Linked DNA regions of Homo sapiens: all the other regions are linked to region 1. The links are contacts of gene promoters, found by promoter capture Hi-C in blood cells and fetal thymus (Javierre and others, 2016). All regions are on one chromosome and are shown on one strand. Each heading gives the region's core, a stretch centred on a gene start or on the middle of the fragment in contact. The rest is flanking DNA. Distances are from core to core; before and after follow the strand shown.

The links. Contacts are between HindIII fragments. The CHiCAGO score rates a contact against its expected background, and 5 or more counts as called.
Region 2: a contact is called between a fragment that was not itself captured here and the fragment with the promoter of VCAN in region 1, in 5 of 17 cell types (megakaryocytes, fetal thymus, endothelial precursors and 2 more). The highest score is 13.0, in megakaryocytes.
Region 3: a contact is called between a fragment that was not itself captured here and the fragment with the promoter of VCAN in region 1, in 3 of 17 cell types (endothelial precursors, M2 macrophages and fetal thymus). The highest score is 7.4, in endothelial precursors.
Region 4: a contact is called between a fragment that was not itself captured here and the fragment with the promoter of VCAN in region 1, in 2 of 17 cell types (fetal thymus and megakaryocytes). The highest score is 7.9, in fetal thymus.
Region 5: a contact is called between a fragment that was not itself captured here and the fragment with the promoter of VCAN in region 1, in 3 of 17 cell types (endothelial precursors, fetal thymus and megakaryocytes). The highest score is 6.0, in endothelial precursors.
Region 6: the fragment with the promoter of RPS23 here is called in contact with the fragment with the promoter of VCAN in region 1 in 1 of 17 cell types (fetal thymus); the score reaches 8.0 in fetal thymus.

The regions. Positions count from the first base shown.
Region 1 is chr5:83,470,361-83,473,169 of GRCh38, reverse strand. It overlaps VCAN (versican), which reads right to left and starts at 1,426. Exons shown (of 15, transcript NM_004385.5): 1 at 1,147-1,426. RefSeq lists an enhancer at 125-997. The HindIII fragment of the contact is 5,577 bases long and covers 1-2,809 here.
Region 2 is chr5:82,359,101-82,361,855 of GRCh38, reverse strand. No RefSeq gene overlaps it. Among named protein-coding and RNA genes, the nearest start is that of RPS23, 82 kb to the right of the region's middle. The HindIII fragment of the contact is 1,156 bases long and covers 780-1,935 here.
Region 3 is chr5:82,302,634-82,305,333 of GRCh38, reverse strand. It overlaps the pseudogene ATP6AP1L. Among named protein-coding and RNA genes, the nearest start is that of RPS23, 26 kb to the right of the region's middle. The HindIII fragment of the contact is 707 bases long and covers 948-1,654 here.
Region 4 is chr5:82,334,579-82,337,278 of GRCh38, reverse strand. No RefSeq gene overlaps it. Among named protein-coding and RNA genes, the nearest start is that of RPS23, 58 kb to the right of the region's middle. The HindIII fragment of the contact is 189 bases long and covers 1,170-1,358 here.
Region 5 is chr5:82,384,237-82,386,943 of GRCh38, reverse strand. No RefSeq gene overlaps it. Among named protein-coding and RNA genes, the nearest start is that of RPS23, 110 kb to the right of the region's middle. The HindIII fragment of the contact is 2,926 bases long and covers 1-2,707 here.
Region 6 is chr5:82,277,002-82,279,773 of GRCh38, reverse strand. RPS23 (ribosomal protein S23) reads left to right here and starts at 1,420. Exons shown (of 4, transcript NM_001025.5): 1 at 1,420-1,454; 2 at 1,922-2,081. The coding sequence starts at 1,451. It also overlaps the pseudogene ATP6AP1L. RefSeq lists an enhancer at 1,100-1,429. The HindIII fragment of the contact is 8,285 bases long and covers 919-2,772 here.

The DNA.
Region 1 (2,809 bases), core at 177-2,676:
CGCCCACGCCTCTGCAGGACGGTGGGGCGCTCCAGCCGAGGACGTCCCCCGGGGCTCCCGGCACACGCGCGCGCCGCTGCCGCTAGACCTGCCAGTAAAGTTGCTCAACTAGAGCGGAGAACTAGGAGAGGGTGGGGAATATGTAAGGAAACGGAGGACTCCTGTAGTCTGGGCGAGAGGACTGACCCAGAGGCCCCTGATTCGGGTCCCCGAGCCACCTTTGTCTGCAGTGCGCTCTGGGTGCCGGTTTGCTTGTTGAGATGGGAGCGACAGACCCTATTTCACTCTTCAGGGTGAGAAAAATTGTTGCACATCCCTGCCGATTCAGAACAGGCTTTTCCCGCCCAGGGGCCTCCCAGACCTCCGCGGGGCTCCAACAACCCCACCCCCCATCCTCTGCTCCTTCCCTGCTGGCCCCTTCGCACCGCGTGCAGGACAAAAGAACCCAGGGGCGCCGGGAGAGAACCGTGACAGTCCCCAAGTCGTCAAAGAGACACGGCGGGGATCCTGCACCTCCCCCGGCCGGACCTCCTCCCAGACTGCCTGCGGTCTGAAGGGGTCAGGTCCGCGCAAGGTCCCAGGCTGCTTGGGCGCCGGGTCGCACTGTCAGGAGCTGCCCGGGAGTGGCTTTCCAGGAACACCAGGCACTGACCACACACCAGGGGCTGGGAAACCAGGTGGCCTGCACCAAGGCGGCTTCGGGGACTTGTCTGTGGCAAGTCTTGGTAGTCCCCATTCAAACTTTTGCCTCGAGCGTGTTAAGAACAACAACAACAAAAAAATCAAAGTGCCAAAGGTCCCTCTCTTCTCTCCAGCTCAAGAACCCACCACTTTTCTATGATTTCTTTACAATTTATTCCCTCCCTTCCCCCAATTCCGTTAGTCATTTTACCCCCCACCCCACCCTGGGTTTCTTTTGTCTGAATCTTTTTCAACACCAAGGTCCCTCTGTATGCCTCTCCCCAAAAGCCCTTATGAAAGTTACCTGCATTTTTTAAGTGCCTACATTTTCTTAACTTCGCCTTACAGCTCTTTGCCTTAATTAAAGCCTTCTACCAATTGCTTCTTTTTTCTAAGCTCGCGGGTTTTTTTCTATAAGTTTTTTGTTTTTGTTTTTTAAGGGGGGAACAAAAGAAACGTGATTACCTTGGAAGGCGGCTTATTGCAGTTTGGGGGGAAAATTCACTGCAGCGCTGCGCGACTGGGTTCGGCGTTGCCCAGGCGGGTCACATAGGAAGCGTGGTGGCCCGGGGAAGGATGCGGAGGGTGCGGGACGGTGCTGGAAGATGCGGGAGGATGCGGGGCTGGCCGAAGATCTTGGTCCCAGCTCCTGTCCACAACACCTAATGTTCTCGGCTGTTGCGTCCGCACGCCTGGAGTTCTTCCCCAGAAAGGCTCGGGGCAGCTCGCCTGCAAGTTCAAATGCGGGTTGTGACACCCATCATCATTATATCACTGTACCGTCAGAGCCGAGGAGGAGACTCAGCGAGAAGAAGGAGGAGGGAGAGGAGGAGGGTTCATTCACAGGCTCCAAAAGCGCTCCGCAGCTTCAGCCACTCCTAAGAGTCCAGGCTTGGAAAGCAGGCGGAGGGGCGGAAAGGCAGCTCCCCGCGCCTGCGGTAGGGACCGCCTGCCTCCCTCCCCAGGCACTCCCACCTCTTGGCGTTTCTTCCTGACAAGAAGTACCAATCGGCTTGGGGACAGCAGCGCTCCCCATTCAGGGACTCACTCAGTAACATCGCTCTGCTCGCGGAAACCACTGCCCTCCCACTCCTTCCCCACCCCCATTTCCCCGCCCCCCGTGCAGCTAGTTCTGGGTTAGGGGAAAGGAGCCCCCAGGCTCTTAGGGGGCAGGCCAGCAATAGACAATTGAGTACGATCACTTCTTCTCGGGAGCACACAAAACTGTAAAATCAGCAAAGAACTTGGTTACAGCGTGTTTACGCGCCCACAGAGCTTGCCTGTCCCATCAAAGGGAAGTGTCAGGCTCAAGGCTCCTGCCAACCTGAAAGAGACACTGAGAAAACGAGATCCTTCGGGGACCTAGAGGGAAAGTGTAAGAATTCCCCACTGCACTCCCAGGGAACTGCCCAATGGGGAGCCCGGCTTCAAAAGACCCTGGTAATAAAAGGCTGGACAGGAAATTCCCCCAGGCAAATCCCTTGTCGGATTCAAAGAGAATACTTTTCCTCTGCCACAAATCTCTCCCCACATAAGTCTAGATTCTGCTTTCTTCGTTCTTCCTTTCCTTCAGTCTTTCCAAGTATCTCTGAGTAGAATATTTGATAATTTTCCTGAGTAACAGGGACTTCTTGGAAGTATCAATCACCTTTCATGCTTTCCGGAAATAAGACCATAATCTTTCATGCGTATATGCGATTTTTTTTCTTCAGTCAGGCCCACCCCACTGTGTAAACAGCATCAACACATGGAAGAGTCCCCTGCATTGTGTTACAAAAGATTTCCAATAGGACCTTACAGAGAAAAGGGTCAAACAGTTGACACAAAGGATTTCTGTCCCCTTAGAAAAGAGGGACTTTGGATTTTCCTTTTCTTTGAAGTCAAGTATGAGTTTATACAATAGGAACAAAATAAATCCAAGGTGCACATCAGTATAACACTAGGGATACTAGAATGGATGGCAAACTTTTCCTTCTACACAAATATGAAAGTATCCTCACAACTCTTCTCTCTGAAGCCTCTACTTAGAAAATTATATTAAACATAGGACCTCAAAACAGTAGTGATTAAAGATGAAAGCCAATTTTTCCTCTCAACTTCTTTGATTAGTTTGGTTTAAACTTATGCT
Region 2 (2,755 bases), core at 108-2,607, 1.1 Mb after region 1:
TTCTTCATGAAAGAATAAGTTTAAAAGGTAAGAGAATAAGATAAATACATTCTGCAATGTTAAAGGTCACACATGGCTGGCTTGAGTTTACCATTCTTGGGTCCTCGAGTTCAACTCACTGACTTCAATTCCTGATCCATGTGGTAGCTCCAATGTCTACTATTCTGCTGGGCTGGCCCTTGGTAGGTACTAAATAAATCTTTATTGAATTCAACTAAATTAATTTGTTACTGAGGCATTTCAGGCTGTGCCATATAAAGATATTAATAATAGCCCTAACATTTACCTCAAAATACTTTCCAAGTCTTGTTAGCTTACCCACTCATCTACAAAAGATTTACACTCACATTTCTATGAGTAGGATTTAGGAACTTAGCTCCATGAATTAGATTATACTTTTAAGAATTGTAAGAGTTAACAGTCACAAACCCCAATAGACTATTCTAACATGGCCATATTTTACACAAATTCGAAATAGTGTAACATGAAAAATTCATATAGTCTCTTCACACTCAAAATGTGAAGTAATGTAAGTGCCTCAAATTTAAATTCTTTCTGAGGATCAAAGAATTTTAAGGCTGGCAGGCCAAATGAACAGTAAAACTGAGTTCAGGATATGGCCTGAATTATGCAAGTTTGGAATTAAGCAGTCTTTAAGGCCACATCCTTTTCATAAATGCCACCAACCACAACACATCACCAAGGGACAACACAAAGGAAGCACTGCTGTGTAACAACTTGGTGGCTGAAGTCTTGGAGGCCAAACAGGCTCAGAAGCTTCAAGGCAAAGCAGCCGTCCTCAGCCTCTCAAAAATCTATGCGATCACAGAGACAAATGCTGAGACACCCAACAGGAAGATGAAAATTAAACTGAAGAGACCCATGACCAAATTGCACCCAAGCATCCAAATGTTGGTGGTGCTAGCCCTGAAACAGCGGGCTCCCAGGACTCAGAGAACAAGTTATCCATCTCCGCTCTCAAACTCTCTAGCCCTTATAGAACCATAGGCTCTCAGACTTCACCTGGATGAGAAACCACAGCTCTCCCAAAGCCTCATCATTTCAGGGTGAGAGATGCTGACAGATAAACAAATTATCAAATGACAAAGTGAGTTTAGCCTTTGTGCACTGGAAGTAATGGCTGGAAATGTTCATTACCAATTCCACAAAGACAGGCAAACATTCACACTGAGAGAGAGAGACAGAGAGAGAGATAGAGAAAGAGTGAGACAGAGAGAGAATGAGTAAGTCTATGGTTTCCCTTTCTCCACTGTATGCCCAGTGAAATTGTCCCTGGTATTTAAGAAAGCCAGGACAGAATGAAAACCTAAGAAAAAAAAAGGAATTGAGGTAAAGACCGGCGTGACAATGAAAGTAATGAAGGTGGAAGTCTTTTACAAGCACTTGTGAATCTGAAGCAAGAAGTAGCTTCTTTTCTTGGGTTTTATCCTTCTAGTGGCCGTCCTAATAGGGAAAAGCTAAAGCCAGTCACTTTTGGTGCCTGTATCAACCTTGTAAGACACACTAAATTCTCTCTGTAATGCATAACTGTCAGCCTCTCTCACTCATCTGGAGTGATTTTTCCAATTAAGCGTGACAGGCATTTCACTCAAGCCCCCTATTCTAACTCGGAGGCTGGGTCCTGAAGAATGAGACTTCAGTGGCTGCTGACACTTCTTTTGTCACACAATCCTCTCTAGACAAACAATATTGACTACAAATTTGTCAGGACTTTCTATGGCCATCAATCATGCCTGCCCTTTTGCCTACTTGTGCACTCCTGTATTTCCCCTCACTCCCATGCTTAAAACAAGACAAAATTAAACTCAAAAGTGCAACCCTCAAAGTTAGAATCAGCATAAATCCTGGAGTACCTGCAATTTGAATATTCATTTGGCACAACTAATGTACTCCTTACTCTAGAAATTAAAAGCTTTAAAATGATGTACTGCCTCAGAGAAATGGGCGCCAGAGTTTCATGTCAGAATGCTTTGGTGTTTGTTGTTTTTTGTGTTTGTGTGTGTGTGTATATGTGTGTGTTTTCATTCTTACATGAGTTCTCAGAAAGTACAGGCAGACAAAGGTCCAACTCGCAGGTCTCAAACTGCAATGCCTTCAAGGCTCATAGAGCAGAGATGGGGGCAGAGTTAAAAGCATTTGTTGCTGTAGAAATCGTTATTTATTATTAAGAAATAGGGGTGTAGAATGTCTTTTTCTTTTGGCAGAAGCCGAGGCCCTGAATCCTGCCTGTATGAATGACATGTAAGCTGTGGGCCTGTGATTCTTTTTTCTGTTCGTTTTTCTTCAGTTTGGCTTCATCTCAAGAAAAAAAAAAAAAAAAGTACACATCTTCCCCTACGAGAGAAAGGATGACTTACAGTACTGAGTGTGTGTGTGTGTGTGTATGTGTGTGTGTGTGTTGCCCTGAAGTAATGCCAGCATCCAGAACTGCAACCTTACCTTTTCAATCCTTAAGAACCAGAGACATAGTTGCTCCTGCTCAGCAAAGGCTACAGCCAGTTCCAAGAGCTCCATTAGGACTTGCATTAGGACCAGGCCACCACCACAGTGAGCTCCAAGGTGGGCTGGTCCACGTCTTGTGATCAAAATGACTGATACTAGCACCAGAGTGTCCATCATTATAGTTTCTTCTTTTGCTTCTTCAATGAGAAGGAATGGGGATTTTCAATTAAAGTTTTAAAATATCTTCTTTCTTCAAGGTCTTATCAGCCAACTTGTAAATTGTCTTTCAGCT
Region 3 (2,700 bases), core at 52-2,551, 1.2 Mb after region 1:
TTTTTTTTTTGAGATGGAGTCTCACTCACTCTGTCACCCAAGCTGGAGAGCAATGGCGCGATCTCAGCTCACCACAACCTCCACCTCCCAGGTTCAAGCAATTCTCCTGTCTCAGCCTCCTGAGTAGCTGGGATTACAGGCACCTGCCACCACGCCCGGCTAATTTTTGTATTTTAGTAGAGACGAGGTTTCACCATGTTGGCCAGGCTTGTCTCCAACTCCTGACCTCAGGTGATCCACTCCCTTGGCCTCCCGAAGTGCTGGGATTACAGGCGTGAGCCACCATGCCCAGCCAACAATTTTTGAAGTTAACTTCTGACTTGTTCCTTTATTTTAGACAGTAAATACTTCCTCAAAGATGTGTGTCAGGGTCCTATACAAAGGAGCCTACTTTTTTTTTCTGAAATGACAAAAAAAGTTGAATGCAGAGTTAACAGAACGCAATAGCCCTAGGGGCTTCCTCAAACTGAGAGATCAACTTACCTAGCACTTTCTTCACTGCAATTTGAGTTGTCAGGGTCCACAGTTACCTTCTGACCAAATGGCTCGTCTGTAAGGTCCAGCCAGGTTTGATTCTTAAATTTAATCATTATTCTTTTGGCCCAGAAGAGAATGCAAGGAATTCCATTGATGGAGACATTAACTGGGCCATGATGGCTGAATGCATTCCAAGGTTCTTTTTCTAAATGCCCTTCTTTGCTCAGATTGTAGTTGAGAGCCTAATTAACCAAATAAAAAGAACATAAGAGATGAATTTGTGTCTATGTTACAAAAGGCTTCCTAGAAATGAAAGAGCTAATTCACATCCTGTAACGATAAATACATGCCATTACACATTTATTAAAACCCACAAAATGTACAATACAAAGAAAGAAATTTGCACCAATTACTCTAGTGTAAATACAGATAAAAGAAAAATTAGTTAATAGAGAGCAGCAACTTAAGCTTATCAGTAACTAAAGATTATTATTATTATAGCAACAAAAGTGAAGCTGAATATTGTAATGAAAATATAAGAGAGCAAGTAAAATTAAGTATTTTAGGTTTTTCCCAACTATAAGATTCCATAATAAACAGAAAACCAAATACCACATGTTCTCACTTATAAGTGGGAGCTAAGCACTGAGTACACATGGACATAAATATGCAAACCATCAAAACTGTGGATGACTGGAGGATGGAGGGAGTGGAGTGGGTTAAAAAACCACCTATGGGATACTATACTCACTATCAGGGTGATGGGATTCATACCGCAAACTCCAGCATTATGCACTATTCTCACGTAACAAATCTGCACATGGACCCTCTGTATCCAAAATAAAAGTTGACTTTTAAAAAGAAGAGATTCCACAATATGTTTCCCCACCCAAATTTGAAGCAAAAATATGTTACTTATTAATACAATTATTATTTATATTTTCACAGAGCACAGACATGATTGAAATGTGTTTTTAAGTTTTTTAGAGCTAGATTACAATCTGGTTTCCTGACATAGCCATACCTGTGTGATTGGTATTGTTGTGAAATTCTGGAATGGTTTCATATCTCCATTATTCTGATCTGTCAAATAAATGATGATGTGGTTACCAAATGCTAAATGTCATTTATTAATGTAATTGGGAGCAATGCTAAGCACTGTCACATATATCAAGCTTGAGCCCCTTTTGGCTCATAATTTATGATGCACTAGTATAAAAGATTTCACATGAGTGACTCCTGGTACAGACACCACTGGTCAGGGAATTCTATCACAGAAAAAGCCCTTCTCCACCCCACAAGGAATCATGTGGGCAACTGGAGTCTTACCATTCCTCATAACCACTTCTTTATTTGAAGATGTTGGAGAACTGAAATTAGAAAAAAAAAAAAATTAAAAGATGCTGAATAAATATCCATAATTTAGATGTTACACGAAATTTTAAGAAGTATATTTCACTTTATTACATCTCAGAATAGAGGAGCAGAAACAGCCTGCCAAAACTGTTCATTTCTTAACAGTGAATTTCCCATTTAAACAGTAATATGTCTCTCCCCTGCTGTCTCTGCATTTAACAGAGAGAGAAAGTAACATATGTTCCTCAAAAAAGAAAATGAAAAATAAAGAAAAATTTTAGAAAGAAAAATTATTTTATTTATTTTTATTTTATTTTATTTTATTTGAGATGGAGTCTCACTCTGTCACCCAAGCTGGAGTCCAGTGGTGTGATCTCGGCTCCCTGCCACCTCTGCCTCCTGGGTTCAAGTGATTCTCCCGCCTCAACCTCCTGAGTAGCCGGGATTACAGGCATGCACCACCACACCCTATTAATTCTTGTATTTTTTGTAGAGATGGGGTTTCACCATGTTGGCCAGGCTGCTCTTGAACTCCTGACCTCAGGTGATCCACCCACCTCAGCCTCCCCAAGTGCTGCAATTACAGGTGTGAGCCATCATGCCCAGCCAGAAAAATTATTTTAAATCAAACCTGATTCTTATTCATTGAATGATATTATGGGGGGGCCTACTATGTGCCAAGCAATGTGCTACACGCTAAGGTTTAACCAATAACAAATATAAAATAACAAAGTAATAAAGCATATAAAACATTTTACAGTGAAATTTTATACTACATTGCATTGTTAACCTATCAAAGCCAAAACATCCAGCCTTTCAAAAAAAAGACTGACTCAATTACCAAAAAGTTATATTGGAAACTTATGA
Region 4 (2,700 bases), core at 15-2,514, 1.1 Mb after region 1:
TATTGCTAATTCCTAGCAGCCTGCCCTATGAATTTCTTATAGTTTGTGTGCACAAAGGAAAGGAAAAAGGAAAGGAAGGGAGGGAGGGAAAGAGGAAGAAATAAAGGACTGGCAACATATGATGCATTTCATGAGTTATAAGTGATTGGACTGCGTATAGGGCTTTATCACTGGACTGTGTGTTTGAAAATCAGAAGTAAGATGAAAAATATAGGGGAAAGCTGAGTAAAGACTTATAAAAGACAAATAAGAATGGTTTATTTCAGGGTATAATTATTCTCATGGAATGAACTGAAATGGAATTTTAGATGGAAGGAGTAGGTAGATCCCAGATAGTTAATATTAATTTTTTTTTTTAGTTTCCACACTGTATTTCAAACCAGTTTTAAACTGCCCACACTATTTGATTTCATGTTTCATCATTTGCTGAGTTTAATCATTTCCATAAAGGAAGCAACAAATGATGGCCAAATGAAAACAGAAACTTCAAGAGCTGGGACATCATTAGTTAGTGAGGAGCCCAGCTTCTTCCCAGGAAGCCTGCTCAGCTATGGGTTCCAGACAGAGTAAGAATCTCTCCTGAACTTACACAACCTTAAGTCAAGAATGAAAAGTGGCTAATAGGAGAGAGACAGATGAAAAAGGATGAGCTCTCACTAACTACTCTGCCAAGGTTTTTACAGGAAGCAGCAATAAGGGTTTCATGTATTTCACACTTTTCTCTAGTATGGATTTTACCAAATTTCAGTAAAGACACATGGCAATATTTCTTTCTGGGCATTAACTTAAACCTATTTTTCAATTCTTATTTTTAGACATCAATTCCTGTGGTTGGCATTACAGAAGTGTTTCTGGAACGTGGCCATGTTGCCAATGATTTTTAATGGATGCCAAAGAAGAAAAAGCATTCTAGCTTGGAAGAAATACTTTAGGCCGGAGAAGAAAGCGCAAGGCAGTCTAAATGCAAACCATTTATGTTAAACAAATGCAGCCATGCTGAAACAATAGAGTCAGTGCCTTAGTCAAAGAATACTGTGACATGCTTATGGATATGGAGACTTGTATAAGAAATATAAAAATGATCTTTTTTGGTACTGGGGAAAATTAGGATATTTGCCTCAAATATTATGCTGTGGGTTGAGACCCATTCCTAGAAAAGTTAGAAAGCTTTTTTTCCTTGCCAATCTAAAACAGACACACGAATAAGAATAGCTGGGGTGAGCAGGCCTTGGACATTTAGGCACGTGGGCATGGCATGAGTCATGGGAACATGACAAAAGGAAATCCAAAGACCTGGGGTCTTGTCCCAGATCTGTCATTTGCTAAATATGAACCATGAGTCAGTACTCATCTAAGCTTCTATTTCTCATTAATAAGAATGGGATGATTTTTATACTTGCCCACTCAGGGTCCTTAAGAAAGGGGTTCTAGGCCGGGTGCGGTGGCTCACGCCTGTAATCCCAGCAATTTAGGGGGCTGAGACGGACGGATCACCTGAGGTCAGGAGTTTAAGACCAGCCTGGCCAACACAGGGAAACCTCGTCTCTACTAAAAATACAAAAATCAGCTGGGCATGGTGGATCATGCCTATAATCCCAGCTACTTGAGAGGCTGAGGCAGGAGAATCACTTGAATGCGGGAGACGGAGGTTCCAGTGAGCCGAGATCCTGCCACTGCACTCCAGCCTGGGCAACAGAGCAAGACGCTGTCTCAAAAAAAAAGAAAAAAGAAAGAAAAGGAGATCCAGTACCATATCAATGGCAAACCAGTAATATATTTTGGGACTAATAATAAGCCCTCATAAATTGAACCTCTTAAGAAATAAACATGTCTTTCTGGCTTAAAGAAGCAAAACAGAGCTTCGGCTTTCCAGCAACTTTTAGTAGAACAAGTGGGAGAGATGTCAGACAGTACTAACATTTAAGAACTGCAAAATATTAAGAATGAATGTTTAATGTGAGTGTTGGTCAGAGTTAATGTCAATCTTTTTGGTGCCCAAGGCACTGACAGTCAGTTCAGCATCTAGTCATGCCTAAAGGCACTTTGAGTCTAATGCAGCCTCACTCGATACCACCTTATAGGTGATGTGGAAAGTCTAACAAGGCTCAGTCTGGATTTTTCTCAGGCTCCATCCTCCTCAGTCTCACTTTGACAAAGCTCTTGAAAAAAGTTCAGCTTATCTGACTCCAACAGGGTGTTGAGTTTCTTGTGTCAGAGCTCTCGAAATAAGGAACTATTCTTAGCTGGGTTTACTTGGGAAATATTTAGCTGTGGTTGTTAGCTATTCTAGGAATGAGACTGGCTTTGGATGGAATCAGGTTGGCGTCTCCACTAGAAGAATGTCTGTTCGTTGAGGAAGAGAGCATGGGGATTGTAACTTCAGTTTGAATGTTTTAAACTATCTTGTGGGTAAATAGAAGTTCCTGCAACCCAGTTCCTCAGCATAACTCATCCATGGCTCTGTGCTTACTTACAAAAGGTGAGGCAAACTTGCAGTCAGCATGACCCTAACTACCATGTCGGTTGGTTATGTTTACTATCTTATCCACTAATGAAAGACAAGATTCTTAGGTGCAACGAAAGTCACCGACCTCCTGAAACATACCCTAAACATCTCCAGAAGCAGTTTACCATAATTCCTGGCACTCAATACTGGCATCAGTGCATGGCCTACTCCAGTGTCTTAGAAGTCACAGATAA
Region 5 (2,707 bases), core at 18-2,517, 1.1 Mb after region 1:
GCATTAATGTGCTACTCGTGAATGGAACAAATGTTTACATAAATCCATACTGGGAAAAGAAATTCTTCTCTCAAACACTTCCAGGGGAGACATCATTGGCAGGATTAGCTGCATATTGGAGCTGCCATATTAGTTCATTTTCCCTGTACTTCAAAGATGCAGGAGCCAACAAGAGGGAGGGCACCACAGTAAGAAATGTGAGTAGCAAGGTTATAAATCAGTACTTTTGACAGGGTGATTCCAGACAGCTTTGCTTTAACCAACATTCGACCTTACTTTATAGTGGTGAGGAGGTATTGAGCATAGTTAAGTGTTAAAAAATGACCCTGGCCTTCCCTACAATGTGGTATGAAAAAATATAAAAGGCACTTTTAAACATTACTTTGAAAATCTTAAGTGAGGTATATAGTACAGAAATATCTGTTATCCAAAATCTAAGATTTTATTGTTTTCAAAAGAGGAATTTTTAAAAGTACCCCCTCCAAGGCAAACAAAAAATGTCAAGCTGTGAGACGTAAATAAAACTGCAAACTACCTTTTTCCCAACTACTCAACTCACAACTTTCCCCAATCCCTCTTTAGTGTTTGCTTATACCGGACAAATTACGAAACTAAATCTGCTAGGGAAGGCTAAGTTCATAAGGTTTTGGGTAAGTAACTCCAACAACCTTCATTGATTATTAACATTATGGGTCCCTCCATTCTCACAAGTGATCGAACCAAGTCAACACTTGGCACATTTTCAAAATTCTGCTAAGAAATAGCAGAGGACACAGAAGTATTATATAATATGGTCCCTGCCCTCAAGGAGTTCATAGTCAGATTATCCATACCAGTTTAATTCTTAAGATGACTGCTGTAAGAAACTGAAGCCCAACAGACAACATCATGATAGTTTTTCTGTTGAAAAGGAAGATTTTCATCAGTTGAATGGACAGTGACAACATTTCACTTTTGGAGAGAGGAAATTTGGTCCTCTAAACATGAGGTTCTATGATGGGCTGTAGTCATTGTATCCATTTCCTCCGGGCCCCAAATAAAGACGTGACCCAAACTGGGTCACACAAAGCCCTGCCTGTGGATGTCTTTGATACGGAGCTAACAAAGAGGCTGCTGCTTCTCTGGAAAGCTGTGGGAGGCATTGACACTGGAGCTTCCTGTGGCTGCTGTTCGCTGCTCAGGGAGGGTGCCCCACTGAGAGGATAGGGCCAATACGCAGAGAGAAGCAGAGAGAAGAGGGACGGCACAGCACTGTACACTCTGCTTCCAGAAACCTGAGGTTAACCATACCCTGCCCTTCCCAAAGTTTGGTTATGTTTGCCAGCAGGTTCCATCCTTGGCAAGCTCGTTGGAGTTGGACTTCTGTCCCTTACAACCAAAATGTGTCTTGACATCAGTTGTTCTCCATCTTCAACGTACCTAACAAAAGAAATGGAGTCTTACACTTCAGCAGGAATTACATGATACATATGACATATTATATACGAATTTTGAAATTACATGATAGATATGACATATTATATATGAATTTTGACTCTAAAGGAGCTCAACCATTAAACTTCCTACAAAGTGTGGATGTGGCACCTATTCTTGGTCTTCAAATTATCTCAGATGACTGTCTTGAATAACTTTACACACAGAACAAGGCCTAGACTGATGCATAATTCTTAAACTATTTGTTCTACACATCTTGGACCTGTTGAAATGGCCCAAAGACTACCCACCCCGCTGAGCACTGAAACTACCTATTCCTGCCTTCTAATTCCAAGTGCCCTCCATTCACTGTCATCTGCTGCTTCTGCACCTCCACAGGCACAAATACTAGGACAGCACTGACATACCCGGTGTGATTATTCACAAACACATCTTTGCATCACCTGCAAGTTCTCTGCCTTCTACTGAAGCCTCTGTGGAATCCACTTCTCCCTCCTGGCCATGGGGCCACCACAGCAGCTGAATCACCTGCCCTTCCTTCTTCCGTCCCTCCCAACTCAGAAAACCCCTGGTGTCCCCATGAGGACCACATTTTGAGAACCACTAAACAAGAGGCGTCTCTATGATTCTTGCCAACACTATCATCTCTGCATAATAGCACAAACTTTTCTTTCTCTGAGTGTTCTTTTTTGGCAATTAAAGGGGCAGATTTTAGAAGTTTCTCTCCTTTCTATCCTACAGTTATAAAAAAACGAAAAATGGGCAGTACATGAACCCAACCAAGAATACTGTTTTTTCAGCTGCTTTTCCTTAACCTTGAGATTCCTGAATTGAAATGGGGGAGGGAGAATAATTAGGTATGATGTTTGAGAAATTGATTCCTAATAGTTTGTGAGGTTTAGAGTATTCGTCATTTCACCCACTATTCAAGTGTTTCTTCGTGGTTTGCTCCACAAAGAAAAAGGTCTCTTGGGAGTCAAATCTGTTTGAAATTATTCAGCTCAAAGACTGACACTGTGAAATTAGAGAGAAAGAGGTCAAATAACCTTATCGGTGGATTTTCAGAGTAAAGCATGGTCTGGCATCATGTGGACGTTTTCAGATGGCCACAGACACTGAAGAGACAAAAAGAATTTTCCAAAAAAGAAGAATTTTTCTTACAGTAAAGAGATCCAAGTCCCACCCACATCATTTTTTGTTGTTGTTGTTTTGCCCTTGACCCTTCGCTGCTAACACTGCTTCTAAATTACTGCAGACACAGTGGAATTTGGAA
Region 6 (2,772 bases), core at 171-2,670, 1.2 Mb after region 1:
CTTTACAATGGCTTTAAATCACCAGAAGAGTAGAAAAAGGCTTTACCATGGCCTACAGGCTCCACATGTTCCTGTGTAACTCTCAGACCCCATCTAATGCCACACTACTCCTCAGTCACTATGCTCCCCTTCTTCACTGATCTTTCAGTTCTTAGAAAGCACTAGCCCATTCTACATCTGCACAGAGATGTCACCTTAAACTACCCTATCCAGAGTAGCCACCCCCATCCCCAAGTCACTATCACCCATCCAGCTATATTTTCTCTATAGCTCTACAGTATGTAAAAATCATCTATTTAATTATTTAATTTACATCTATCTAACTGGTCTGTCCTCTCACATTTAGAATATAAACTGTATCAGAGCAGAAACCTTCACCCTCTTAATTTAACCGCCATATTCCCGGTACCTACAACAGCGTCTGGCACATAGAAGGCATTTTTAAACATCCTTGCTGAGTGAACCAATATCCCAGAAACCTCTCACAGCTAGTTCATCTTACAGGAGAAACAGTATTAAAGAGTTAATTAAATGGCCAGGCGCGGTGGCTCACGCCTGTAATCCCAGCACATTGGGAGGCCGAGGCGGGCGGATCACTCGAGGTCAGGAGATCGACACCAGCCTGGCCAACATGGTGAAACCCCCTCTCTACTGAAAATACAAACATCAGCCAGGCGTGATGGTGGAAGCCTGTAATCCCAGCTACTCAGGAGGCTGAGGTGGGACAATCGCTTGAACCCGGGAGGCGGAGGTTGTAGTGAGCCAAGATCGCACCACTGCACAACAGCCTAGAAGACAGAGTGAGACCCTGTCTCAGAAAAAAATAAAAATAAAAATAAATAAATCTATAAGTAAATGACTCGCCAGTCAAAATAAACGGCAACTTTAGGGTTAAAGGCCCAATCTGGCTCCAAAGCTTGGGGTTTTAGTTACTACACTACATTGCTTCACTATATTTTACAATTTACTAGCTGCTTATAAGTATGAATTAAGGCTCAGAAGTCTAATTTTCCAGACTACTCGGAGGACTCTCGCCCCACTCCACTCCACAAAGATTCAGCTCAGCGACTCCTTCCTACTCTGACCTAGCCCCGCGTCCCGCTCTCAGTGGCTTGGGCAAGAGCGCCTGCGCGGTGAGCGGGTCCCATAAAACGCATTCTGGGATTGGTAGTCCATGTTCCTCCGGTCTCCAGCATTCAAAAGAAAAAGGGGGAAAAAAAACCATGCAAATTAGATATCTCTGAATTTCTTGCAAATTAAATAAGACGCAGATTCTGGCTCAGGAAAGTGATGCAAACGCGTCGTTTTCAAAGGAGAGACCCCAGCCTCGGGTCAGGCGCGGCGCAGACAGCGGCGCGGGGTCCTTGGCTGGGCGGGGCTTGCTCGCGGTGGCTTGTGGCTCCTTCCTGCGGTGCTTCTCTCTTTCGCTCAGGCCCGTGGCGCCGACAGGATGGGTGAGCTGTTGTGGCCGGTTTAAGGGCGCTGCAAGCGGGACTTGGGGTCTTGGGGACGGGCGGGCGGATGCGAATAGAGTAGGGCGGGGGATGCCATGGAGAGGCTCCATGGGGGAGGGCCGGGGAAGCGCCGCTCCAGGAGGCACGTGGTCCGGCGCGGAAGGGGCCCATGAGGCGTGGAGGCCGCCGAGGTCGGGGTACCGAGGGACGCAGGGAGGCCAGCGCTTCCTCCCGGGCATTCGAGCGGGGCCTCGTCCTTCGGGAGAACACATTCTCCGGAGCCCTCTTCGAACGTTTATTAGTCGGTTCAGGGCAACTTGAAGGCCAAATGTTTGGCCCACAGGCCAATAAATAGTACGAGAGCCAATCGGCTTAAGGGTTTATTCCAGGTGAGGCGAGTGTCTTAGAAGATGGGAAACACGTAGATGGCGTGTTTTTACGGAAGAACTAAAATATTTAATTTTTAGGCAAGTGTCGTGGACTTCGTACTGCTAGGAAGCTCCGTAGTCACCGACGAGACCAGAAGTGGCATGATAAACAGTATAAGAAAGCTCATTTGGGCACAGCCCTAAAGGCCAACCCTTTTGGAGGTGCTTCTCATGCAAAAGGAATCGTGCTGGAAAAAGTGTAAGTCCATTGCTCCCGTCAAGTTTTAGTTTATTATAGGAATTCGAGACATGAACTTACGAATTCTTGTTTTGAAAGTAATTGCAGGTTTTTGTGTAGTAGTATTCATTTGGGCATTGTGGGGTAAAATTGCAAAGCGTTTGTTCTATTTAAAAGTTGGTAAAATTAGTTTTTGGGAATTAGGTAGTTAAGGTTTTAATTTAACGTTGGCCTGGAAGGAATTGGAGAAGATACTAGCAATGATGAAGTAAAGGACACAAACACCTTTACTGTGGGAGTTGTTATAAGTAAATGGCACGTGTCAGCTATTGAACTTTATCGACTTGATAAAACTAAGGTGAAGAGAAGTGACTTGCATCAGAATTAATTGAGGTCATACACCTAAGATTGAGACATGAAACTGCCAGTATTTGACTGGTTTTGACTTTTTAAAATAATAATTTCATATAGTTCTATCATATTTGATGGTAGAGCCATTTTAACCCAGACTTTTTTTTTTTTTTTTTTTTTTTTTGAGACAGTCTAGCTCTGTCACCCAGGCTGGTGTGCAGTAGCGCAAGACTCCCTGCAACCTTAGCCTCCCAGGTTCAAGCATTTCTCCTGCCTCAGCCTCCCAGGTAGCTGGGATTACAGGCGCCCACTACCACACCAGCTAATATTTTGTATTTTCAGTAGTGATGGGGTTTCACCA